Regions from separate parts of the Homo sapiens genome. Here regions 2 and 3 are each linked to region 1. Evidence: promoter capture Hi-C in 16 types of primary human blood cells and fetal thymus (Javierre and others, 2016). All regions are on one chromosome and are shown on one strand. The core of a region is centred on a gene start or on the middle of the fragment in contact, and the rest is flanking DNA. Distances in the headings are between cores, read along the strand shown. Region 1 holds the start of NTRK3 (neurotrophic receptor tyrosine kinase 3). Region 2 has its middle 540 kb from the start of LINC00052. Region 3 overlaps AGBL1 (AGBL carboxypeptidase 1).

Region 1 (3,732 bases), core at 1,107-3,606:
CGCCCCTTGGCTGTTTATCTTGTCATCTCTGGCCGGGTTGAAGAGGGTAAGGGGGTGAACAGCAGAGCTGAGATATGGGTCAAGCTTGTCTCCTGGGCCAGGAGTCAGAGACATCTCCTGGGCTATCCATTTCCCTCAAACTGTCAGCTGCGAGAGCGCAAGCAGAAGCTCCATTAAGCCGAGAGGGCTGGTGGGCTTTCCAAAGAGCAGGACTGCAATTCCTCCAGGCTTTGCAGCCCCATGGCCCTGGGCTGAAGCAAGGGGAGGTGCTCCCAGAGCAGCACCAAAGGCAGGTCCGGCCCCCTTAAGTCCGTCGAAGGGGTAAAGAGCCACCCAAAATGCCTTCCTCCAGACCTTGGCCAGGACCTCAGCACAAACCCTTCTCAGCTGCCTACCCATTGCTGAGGGTCCCCAAGGGCTGGAAGCCTTGGGGGAAAAGAGGTGAGAATTATCCTCTGAGCAATTCCAGTATGGTCCACACCCTTCTCCAGGGTGGTAGGTTAGGAAGGGGTCACCTGGCCGAGGTCAACGAAAGAAAAGAGGAGCAGACTCTCCAGTCCCCAGCCCTCGATCTGTCCTCTCCTTTGCGTCTGCTGCCATCCCCACCAAAGAAAAATAGCAAGGAGAAAAGAGCAGGCCACCACTGGTCTCCCTCGGAGGGGGCAGAACCAAGCAAAAGCCAGCCAGAGTTGAATGTTCCAAATGAACCGATCCGCACGATCACACAAGAAACCCCTCTCCTCAAAACACACGCCCTCTCCTCTCCCTGCGCCATCCTGACTCGGAATAGTTCCGAGCAGTTATCAAAGCCCAAACTGGGAAGGGATCTGTAGGCGCCCAGATGCAGATGAGGGTGGCAAAGGGGTGTCTCGGAAATGCCCAAAATGGGGCTGGAGAGGGCGGGCTGCAGGAGGGGAAGGGAAGAGGTAGGCGTCCATGACGGCCTCCACACGTCCAAAGTCTCCCCGCGAGCAGCCAGCTCGCAACTTGTTTACTTGTCAGCATGTTTTGCTGTTTCCAAATGGAAATAGTTAAACACCTCGGCTGGATCGCGAGCAGTCCCTATCTGTCACCTTCCCTGCCGGCTAAGCGCTGCCGCCGCTGCCACCGCCGCTGCCGCCTCTGCCAAAGAATCGAACCTCGTCTACTTTATTCCACTTGAGCGTGGCCAAACTGTTGCTATTTAGTGGGGAGCAAAAAAAAACAATTTGCACCATCGAAACGAGCCAGCAACTGGTTGGGAGGCGGGCGGTAGCTGGGCCCCGCGTGCCCTCGGCGGCCGGGGTCCTCTCCGGGGAGAGGCACACACACGCATAGCCGGATCGCGCCTCGCCAGGGCCGGAGTCACCTGGAATGCGCAGCCGGAGAGCATCTCCCGAGCCAGAGCGAGCCTGACGCGCGCCCAGCGGGCGGCGGGCAGCGGCGAGCTGGGGCGGGCGGAGGGCCGGCTCCCGGCCGCGGGTGGGCAGGAGGGAGACGCAGAGCGCGGGGGAGGCAGGCTGGGGAGCGGCCGCCTGACTTACATGGAAGTGATATTCCTTGAGATGTCCGTGATGTTGATACTGGCGTTCCCATTGCTGTTCCCTGAATCCTGCCCTTCCAGGAGGGGGAAGAGGTTCCCATCGTCCGGCCGCCGGCAATTGATCTCAGTCTTGCTGCAGACACAATTTGCAGGGCAAGCCAGCACGGAGCCCACATAGTCCAGCCAGACGCTTCCCAGCAAGAAAATCCGCCAGAAACTACACTTGGCTGGGCAAAGAGAGACATCCATCTCCGATCGCTGCTTCTAAAAAAGAGGAGGAGGAGAGGAGAGGGGGGTGGGGTGGGGGGAGTGGGGAGAGCAGGGGGGGAAGGAAACAAAGACGGCGAGGGAGGGGGGAAGGGGGAGGGGGGGCCTCTGCCTTTGAAACGCCGAGCGATCAGATGCAAAATCCTTCAGCGTCTGAAACCATCGCGGACGCCGCCGCCGCCGCCGCCGCCGCCGGGTGGGAGCCGCGAGGAGCGCCTAGTGGCGCGGTCTGCCGGGCATGGTGGCCGGCTCGGCGATCGCTGACTCGCCGGGTCCGGGGGCTCTGGAAGCGAGGCGCGCTCTCCGACTCCGAGACTTTGCAGGGTTGCAACAGACGGTGGGGAGGCAAAAAAAAAAAAGGAAAAGGAAAAAATGGTGCTAAAGTCACCAAGTCCCACCTACTGGGCAGAATTAAAACGGACACACCACGCACCTGCAAAACACACACACTCACTCTCACACATACACACACCCGGAGCCCGAGGAAAGGAAGAGAAGGAAGATGCAGTAGGAGCTGCAGCAGCCGCCGCGAATGGCTCGCCGCGCGGCTGCAGAAATGTACAAGTGCTCCGAGCCTTACGAAACGCACGGGTTATCGGAGCGTCTTCCTCGGCTCCCTCCCTCCCTTCCTCCCTCCCTCCTCCCCTCCCTCGTCGCGGCCTCCTCCCCCCGCCCCCCGCCCGGGCTGGGAGCGGCAGGAGAGCGGAATCTCCCCCTCCCTCCCCTCCCCACACCCGTCTCTCTCCCCGCCTGTCCTCTCCCTCCTCCCCACCCACCCACCCACCCACTCGCCGGCTCGCGGCTGTAGCCGGCACCGCCACCCGCAGCCTCGCGGCAGCCCGCCCGCTCCACGCCTCGCAGCGCGGCGCCCGCTAGCCGCAGCCCGGGGGAAACCGAGACCGAAGGGAAAAAGTTGCATTTGAGATTGCGAGGGTCGGGGCTGGGGAGGGAGAGTTGGCGAGCTGGCTGCACGACACGGAAAGGCGCTCTCCTTTCCACTTTTTGGCCCTCGCGCTACCCGGTTTTGCTGCAATCCGGACCGCGGTAGGAAGTGAAATGAACGTGGCGGAGGTGATTGGGGAGTGCTCCCAAGCCTTGGGTGGGGGGCGCTCCCAAGCCTGGGTGGGTGGGGGGCGCAGGCTCACGGACGGCGACGGGGGGTGCCGGAGCGCACAGACACCCCAGAGAAGCACCCAGAGCCGGGGACCGGGACCGCAGACGCGCAGTCCTTGGTCTGAATGACACTCATTTCCGTAATCTAGAGTCTGGGGCTCTGGTCTTGGCTGGGAGGGGACTGCGGGACATGGCACGCTAGGTGCCCCCCGTGCCCGCTGCGCTTTCTTGGAGGTGGGTTTTGCATTCGGCCTTGAGCAGGCATGGATCGGGGAAGGAAGAAACAGGGGTCGAAAGGGCTGCGCTGGAGAGCCGAGGTGGCCCCGGGCGAGCTGTGCGTGCAAGAGAAATGGCCGGGGGAAATTGAGATGCAAGGGGCATATTTTGGCAAGCGCCACGCCAGCACCGTCAGAGGCCGGCTTCTCGGGCTCAGCTCTCGGGTGAGCTGAGCTGGCTGCCGGGTGAGGGGGCGGGCGGGCTGCTTTCTCCGGATTCGGGGGCGCAGAACCTCCTCCTTCCCTCCCACACAAGCACCCCTTCCTGGTAGGGACGCAAAGCAGGTGCAGCTTTCGACGAGAGCTCAGATCTCATCCGGGAAAGAAGTGTGTGTGGGGGGGGCCCCGCTTTTGCGCTGGTAGGGATTTTTTTCTTAATAAAACATAAAGATGCCAAGTGTGAGCTGTTTGCTGAAAAAAAAAAAAACGAGCATTCGCTGTGGGAAAGGAGAAGAAAGGGTTAGGGGAGTCCGAGCAGGCAGACACACTACAGCATTCACACGCAGAAGAAAGCAGGGTTCTCCTTCCCGAGCTTGGAGGAGGGCAGGCGAGGAA
Region 2 (3,955 bases), core at 1,043-3,542, 1.2 Mb before region 1:
ATATCCCATATAGCCTATATTTGCATATTATATAATATATATTCATAATGTGCATTTATTAAGTCTATTTATTTACATACTTTTTAAAAATTCCTCTACCACTAAAATATAAGCTCCATGAGGTCAGGGATTTTCTTTTTCCATTTATGTATACCACTAATGAACAAAATGATATACACTTAAATGACAACACATATATATATGTGTTCAAGAACTGTGCGGTTTATGCTATAGATTATACCATATATAGTATAGTGTAGAAACAACTTATTTTAAGTATAAAACATTAATTTTTCTGACTGAACCACTTGGTAAATGCCCAAGTAACAGCTCAAGAAACCAGCTAGATCTGTGTGCTGTCCAATGCAACAGCCCCTAGCCACATGTATATGTATATATATATGTGTATATAGCCACATGTATATGTATATGTATACATATATATACATGTATACATGTATACATACATATACATGTATACATGTATACATACATATATACATGTATACATACATGTATACATACATATATACATGTATACATGTATACATACATGTATACATACATATATACATGTATACATACATATATGTATACATACATATATACATGTATACATGTATACATACCTATATATACATGTATACATACATATATACATGTATACATACATATGTATAAATGTATACATACATAATATATATATACAGATACATGTGTATATACATATATGTATATACAGATACATGTGTATATACGTATATCTATACATATAGATATATGTATACGTATATATACGTATATACGTGTATATACACGTATATGTACATATACGCGTGTATATATACACGTACGTATATGTATATATACGTACGTGTATATATACCTGTATATATACACGTACGTATATGTACATATACGTACGTGTATATATACCTGTATATATATGTATATATGTATATATTTAATATATAAACTATGTGTATATATACACATATATAATATACATATACGTATATAAGTATATATATACATATACTTATATACGTATATGTATATATATGTGTATATATATGTATATACATAGAGTTTATATGTTGAGTAAATTAATCAATGGATGAATAATGAACACATACTGCCAAAATTAATTATCTGAGGATCCAAACAAATACATTTATTGGGCACATTGCTACACTGCAGGGACAAAATTATTTTTAGTCTTCTTTCTGCTGGTAAGATTGGCACACTAATTATGAAAATGTAGGGTCTTCTCATTAGAATGGAGATATGTAAAAGGAATCGAACGTATTCAAGTCTAGCAACAGCATGCCCACAAATCCCTTCAGGACACCTTCTCCTGGATTTCACCTTTGAATTTGTAAAAGTTCATGTTGTTGCCTATTGCAAAGTGCAGTCCAGGAGCAGGAAAGAATTGCAGGGGTTTTGTTTCATATTTCATCTCTATTGCTCTTTTGTTATCTACTAGTAATGTCCAGAAAACAAATAAGTAAAAATAGAGATGATGTCAGCAGAAGTAGGGGAGTAGGCAACTCTAACAATTCATTCTTCAAACAGAAACAGAAAAATCAAGCAAAGTTGTCAGAATCAACTGTCAGAATCCTGAAAATCATAAAAGAATTACAATAACCAAGCAAATGCTGAATCAAGAAAAAGACCATTTAAAAATGGTAGAAAAGTTATGTAGCATTTTTACTTGCCCTTGCTCTACCCCTTCTCCAGTTTGGCAGTGATTTTGAAGACAGCAGCCCACTTTCCCAGAACCTCATTTCCTGATTCTGGAGGGAGTATTACACACCTCATTTGCAAAGAATTATGTTTGTTCTAATCTGTCTGTCTGGGGGCTGCTGGAAGAACTGACACAAGTTGCTTGTCATTGTTTTGTCTGATCTGGAACTCACACAGGGTGGAAAAACAGCATGCAATCCTTGAGAACCTTGTAAATCAACTGAAGAAGCCAAAATCACCTGAGGCAAAAGATTATGGCTGAAGCATACAGGAGAATACCCAAAGCATGGGTGAAAACATAAGAAGAGAGATTCTTTGGGAAAGTAGGCTACTCAAAGACACCTGTGTATACTGAAAGATTTAGAAAGGTACACATATGCCCACGACATGATACATGCTCAGAAAAGACCTGGGAAAGCCCTAAGCTTTCACTTAGGGCTAATCTCTAGGCTTGGAACAAGCAGGAAGCGAAAACTAAGGCTAAACATCGAAGGAGTGACCCAGCACATAGCCAATCTGCAAATAACACAGGGGCTATTCCTTTTGAAGGGGTAATATAACACCACTACTTGTTTCTTTCTTTGCCATAAAAGACACAGATTTGCAGTCTGTTTTCTTTTTAAGATTGTGAACTAAGAATCATTAACACAAAGTAATAGCTTCAAACATAAGCTTCAAAACATGGAAGACAGAGGTGGGAGAATAGTACATTCTTTTTGCAGAATAAAGTGAAATTAATCTGATGTTGGAAGGCTGAGCTGTTACTCAGCCTATCCTGCAAAGGCCAGGATAAATAGATTATTATTATTATTAAAATTTGTTTCCTCCTCTTTTTTTGTCAATTTTCTTATTTTGGAGGTTGACGTTCCTGGCATGTAAGGAAGTATCTGCCAAAATACTTGCTGAATACAAACTAAATGAACAGAGACTTTGGAGATCACACGTGAAGAAGACTATACAGTACAAAATTAGTTCAGCAAAATTACTAAACCAATGGCTACAGCCTATAACAAGCAACTAATACAATTGCAGAGGATAGGGAAAAGTCTGATTTCCAGAGTTATCACACTCTAGTATTAAAAATGTTTGTTTTCAAAATTATGAAGCACGAAACAAAACAAGAAAGTGTGGTCTATTCACAGAAGAAATTTATAGGAACGGTTCCTGAGAAAGCAGACATTAATTTACTAGACAAATAACTGTAATTCAACTACCTTAAAGAGCTACAGGAAACCAGAATAATTACATATGAATAAATAAAAAATATAAATAAAGAGAAACTATAAAAAACAGAAATTTTAAAGCTGAAGATATAATAACTGAAGCAAAAAACTCACTAAAGGATACCAATAGCAGATTTGAGCAAACAGAAAAGATAATCAGAGAAAATGTGGGTAGAACCATTTAAAATATTCAGTCTGAGGAACAGAAGAAAAATAGAAATGAAGAAAAAGGAACAGAGCCTAAAGGTTTTGTGGGACACCATTAGGCATAAAAACATACACATAATGAGAATCCCAGAAGGAGATGAAAGGGAAATAGGAGAGAAAATAATATTTGAAGAAACTCTAAAATTTGATAAAAGACATATCTACACATTCAAGAATCTCATTCTCAGATAAACAAAAGCTGAAGGAGTTCATTGCTGGTAGAACTGCCCTACAAGAAATCCTAATTAGAATCCTTTGGCTCAAATTAAAGAATATCAGACAGAAAATCAAAGCTATATGCATAAATGATAAATCCTGGTAAAGATAATTACATAAGGATAAAAGCTGATATTATTGTATTTTTAGTTTTTGTTAACTTTATTTTTTATATGATTTAAATGCATAAAACAATATAAATCTATGTTAATGGATACATCCTATATAAAGATGCAACTTGCCACAAAAATAACATAAATTGGGGGGAGGGAGGAGCTGTATTAAAGCATAGTTTTTATGGAAACTTTGAATCTATATTTGTATCATTCAGACTAATTTCTGAGTGGAACCACTCAGAAAATATCTTTTAAGATACACACAGATGGCAATGAGAAAAAAATTAAAGTGGCATACTGCATACATATACATATACACATACATATATACACACATATATTTTTCAGACATTGGACAACAGGTAGGATAAGACTGTGATCCCTAAGAAAATGGAAATTAAAGAGCTGGTCTAAATCACTATCCCAGTTTTCTGCCTAGAGTCCATT
Region 3 (4,157 bases), core at 312-2,811, 1.4 Mb before region 1:
ACTTGCCAGGAGAAAATTATTTTCATACTTTGTCTCCAAACTCTGTGGAAAGGAAAGGGGAATAAAAATTCAGTCGAGTGACTATGTGTGAGGTTCTATGCTATGGCATTTGTTTCTAAGTGCATCATTTCAAGAAGAAGAGGTTTTATGCTATGGCATTCATTTCTATGTATATCATTTCAAGAAGAAAAACAATAAGATTCCCATTTTACACATGAAGACAACAAAGCTCAGAGAAGGCAAATTCCTGTTTCTCACTTGGTATTTGGAGAAGAATTCAAACCCACAATTACTTATCTGACTCTAATTTTATGTTTTGTTTCTGATTTATATTTTGCCCCTACACCATGACTCTCCAATACCGCCTAAAGTGACTTCACTTTTGAATGTGTGTTTACAGGACATCAAAGCTTCCTAGTGAAAGGAGGAAATAAAATCAATTTTCAGGTGTTTTCTCCATGTATTTCCCACATCTCAATATTAAGGCCCACTCTATCAGTGGAACTACCGTTTGATTTCTGCATGATGCTATAATGCTATTTTCTTTCATTTATATTTAACTTCAGTTGCAAATGGTGAGTATGAATTGAATTCATCAGGTTTGAAAAATCAAGAGGGAGGAGAGAGAGAGAATAGCTAACACCCTACTATTGCTGAAGTTATTGTAACCATGCCTTAACATATGTATTTCATCCTGAGGGAGCTGAATCTGAGCTGCAGAGAGAGCAACTCTGCATGACGTTGGAGCTTTATTTTAGAAGCTGCTGTCTGCTCTCTGGCATGTAGAATGCTGCCCTTAGAAGAAGGTTCTCCTGGACACGGGCTGTGTTGCTCTTCTGGACCGCTAGGCTAACTTAAGTGTGAGGCTGTTTATGAGAATGGGGAATTATCTGGAATGAGCAAACAGTTAATAAGATTGGAGGTGATTTGGTATCTATTAAGTATTCCACACTGCCCTGGGCACAAAGGCAGTACAAGGAGCAGTGGTGAAACCAGTAGGAGGCCACCACACACAGAATTGCTTCTTACCACTGCCAGTCATATTAAACAAAATAGAAGTATCTAGTCAAAGAGAGTGGTCCAACAAAGTGCTCAAACAAGTTAAAGAAGGGAGAGGCTGATGTTCTCAAGGAAGATTTCAAAGAGCTGAATGCAAGCTTTACCTTCAAGATAGAAAGGTTGGCAGGAGTGTCAAGGCAGTTTTATTGCATTTTGCTAGATCTGAACAACTTTGTTCAAAGGGAATAAGATAATGGATTAAGTGGTGGCAGGACACAGTGACTCTGACCACTTGCCAGGGACATCTAACAACAGTGTTTCATCTTTTCATATCCATCCCCTTTTGTTCCTTCTTTCTTTTATCTTCCCTCCTTCCCTTTCTTTTATCTTCCCTCCTTCCCTTTCTTTTTTCCTTCCTTTCTTCCTTCTACTTTCTTCTCTTTCTCTTTTTACTCTTTTCTTCTTTCTCTTTCCCCCCTCTTTTCTTTTCCCAGCCTTACTTTTTTGTTTTTAGATGTAAAACATTATATTCTTTTTTTCTCATTAAAATACTCATTTTAAGCCTTGAGAAAAATATAGAAAATATTGATACATAAAAAATAACCTGTACCTTATGTCATCTTATTCTCATTGTCTAAGTATAACCACTGTCAGCCTACAAGAGTAGACTTTCCAGTTCTTTATCTGACATGTTTAGTTTTTTTTTTTTTAATTATTTTTGCATTTGCGTGTATTTCTTGAGCTCCGTTTTCTTCTTACTAAGCTATATACTATAGTAGTTCTTTTTAGCAGTGGTTTCTCCATGGGAAGATGTATTTACTCATGCAAAAGAAATAAAGGGATTTTTTGAGTATAGAATTGCAGTTTGGGGTTCATTTTCCCTCAGCATTGACAAGACATAATTAATTTCTTTTTTCTGCCTCGCTTTAACATTTTTATTTATTTGTTTGTTTTTGCTTTTGCAAATTAAGCTTTAAATTTAGAATAATTTTATATTTATAGAAACACTGCAAAGATACCACAGAAAGTTCCTTTCACCTAGTTTCCCTTATTTAATTTGTTTTTATGGAAAATTTATTGTTGATCTAAATGTCCCTTATTTAAAGATAATCTGTCTTTATTTCTCAAGTTTTCTAAGATTTGCCCTGCTTTATTGATGTTTATTATGATGTATTTACTTATGAACTTCATATATTTCCTATTTTTTTCTGGTTTCTAGAGTATTTCTTGAAGATGATCATCTTTCAACTGGTATCTTTTTAAATATTATCTCTTACCCATTTACCCTAAACACGACTTTTAAAAATTCCTTCTTGTTTCTTATCTTTGCTGAACTGTGTCTGTGACATTTAACCATTCTATTAAGCTTTTTGTTAAAATGTTTTTTCATTTAGAGAAAAGGCTGTTTAATATTTAAATCTACCTTTTTTCCCAAAAAAATCTTTTTCTTTCATTATGTTTCGAGAACTTATTCTAATTTATTAATTATTTCAAATATAACCATTCTATAGTCTTTTCCAAATGGGTCATAATATTTCAAGTTCGTGAGTGTCTGCTTTTGCTGCTTTTCGTATCTGCTGAGTCTTGTTCAAGGTGGATTATTTCCTCATTTGACTTATGATTTGTTATTTTGAGTGTATCTTCTGCAGGCTGTAGTCTTCACCCCCTCTCAGGAGAGTTCCATATACCCTGGGTTTAAAAAAAAAAAAATACCTGCATGGTAATTTTGTATTTGTTTCTGATGGGGGCCTCAAGTTTTCACCAACAAGAATTACATGGTTTGTGATTCACAATGTAATTGTGAACTCTACATCTGTGTAATCTATGATTTCTATATTTTGTCAACATTTTCCCCCTTCTGGTAGTTAGGTTTTCTAACTTTGTTGCGTTGCTAACATTACTTTCCCATATTTAAATCTCTATTTTTTGTTTCTTTTTTAAAATTAGCATATTGTCTATTGACTTCTGCTGTAAAAGATAAATTATTCCAATATGCATTTTCTTTCTCATGCATATGTTCTTATTTTTATTAGTTATAGCATCACCTTTCCATTGACAAGATTGATAGCATTTATATTCTCTTTTGTAAACATCATTTCCAGATTATCCTTAGTTATATGTTTATTATAACATAGTTCTGTGCTCATCAACACTTCTCTGACCATGCACTCCCCATTTGTGAGATCTTCACTATATCAATCTTTGGATTTCCTAGACTTTCTCAAGTAGTGTCTCCCTCTACCCACTACATGCACATTCCTAAGGAAAGCAAATAGCTTTTATATTTCTTGAGGTCTTGCATGTTAGACAGTGTCTTTCTTTTGCAAAACAATTTGGCTTTTTAGAAAATTATTTAGCCAGATTTTAATTTTCTTTTGGCCTTTTCTGTCATTAGGGACACTGACTCCACAGTAGAGAACATTAAAATCAGTCTATGTTTCTCACTTTAGAAGACTTATTTTTCTACTTACATGCTTATATACTTTTTTCCTTTATCTTTGAATTTGAAACTGCTATAGTGCCTTACATGTTTCTCAGCTCCAAGCACCCTCTTTGACATAGAGACAGTATTCAGTGTTGCAGGATTGAATGGATGATTGAATAAGTAAGATTATATGTTGCTGTGGATCATTCAGTCTATTCTTATTTCTAGTGTATATGATGCACCATTTTGAGCTACAAGTAAGTTTTTCTGTATATGAGATTTTTTTCTATTATATCTTTAAACTATATATTTTCCCATTACATTGATCCTTTATTGTTTTACTTTCACATCTATTATCTTCTCTCCTATTAACTTCTTTCTTATATATTTGAATTGTAACTTTCTCCCCTACATTGGTTTTTCAATGTTTCTTTCATATTTATTACATTTTTCTTATTCCTTGGATATGTTCAGTATGTTTTATGTAAACTTCACAACTCTGATTTTCTTGTCACTGATTTTCCCCCCAGTGGTTTCCACCCTAATTCTTGTTGCTTCAAATGTGATTATGGTTTCCATAAATTTTAATCACCTTTTTTTTTCTTGAACTATGATAATTTACTCCTTTCATCTTTTATCTTTTTTTTTTTTTTTTTTTTTTTGAGACAGGGAATCACTCTGTCACCCAGGCTGAAGCGCAGTGGCACAAACTCAGCTCACTGCAGTTTCGACC

Evidence for each region. Contacts are between HindIII fragments. The CHiCAGO score rates a contact against its expected background, and 5 or more counts as called.
Region 2: a contact is called between a fragment that was not itself captured here and the fragment with the promoter of NTRK3 in region 1, in 1 of 17 cell types (naive CD4 T cells). The highest score is 5.3, in naive CD4 T cells.
Region 3: a fragment that was not itself captured here is called in contact with the fragment with the promoter of NTRK3 in region 1 in 1 of 17 cell types (naive CD4 T cells); the score reaches 5.6 in naive CD4 T cells.

Annotation. Positions count from the first base shown.
Region 1 is chr15:88,254,383-88,258,114 of GRCh38, forward strand. NTRK3 (neurotrophic receptor tyrosine kinase 3) reads right to left here and starts at 2,357. Exons shown (of 20, transcript NM_001012338.3): 1 at 2,262-2,357; 2 at 1,902-2,104; 3 at 1,524-1,786. The coding sequence starts at 1,771. All of the region lies in intron 1 of NTRK3-AS1 (NTRK3 antisense RNA 1), which reads left to right. RefSeq lists enhancers at 501-1,038, 1,039-1,575. The HindIII fragment of the contact is 4,913 bases long and covers 83-3,732 here.
Region 2 is chr15:87,034,262-87,038,216 of GRCh38, forward strand. No RefSeq gene overlaps it. Among named protein-coding and RNA genes, the nearest start is that of LINC00052, 540 kb to the right of the region's middle. The HindIII fragment of the contact is 247 bases long and covers 2,170-2,416 here.
Region 3 is chr15:86,893,702-86,897,858 of GRCh38, forward strand. The region is part of intron 22 of AGBL1 (AGBL carboxypeptidase 1); the gene reads left to right. Among named protein-coding and RNA genes, the nearest start is that of AGBL1-AS1, 580 kb to the left of the region's middle. The HindIII fragment of the contact is 813 bases long and covers 1,156-1,968 here.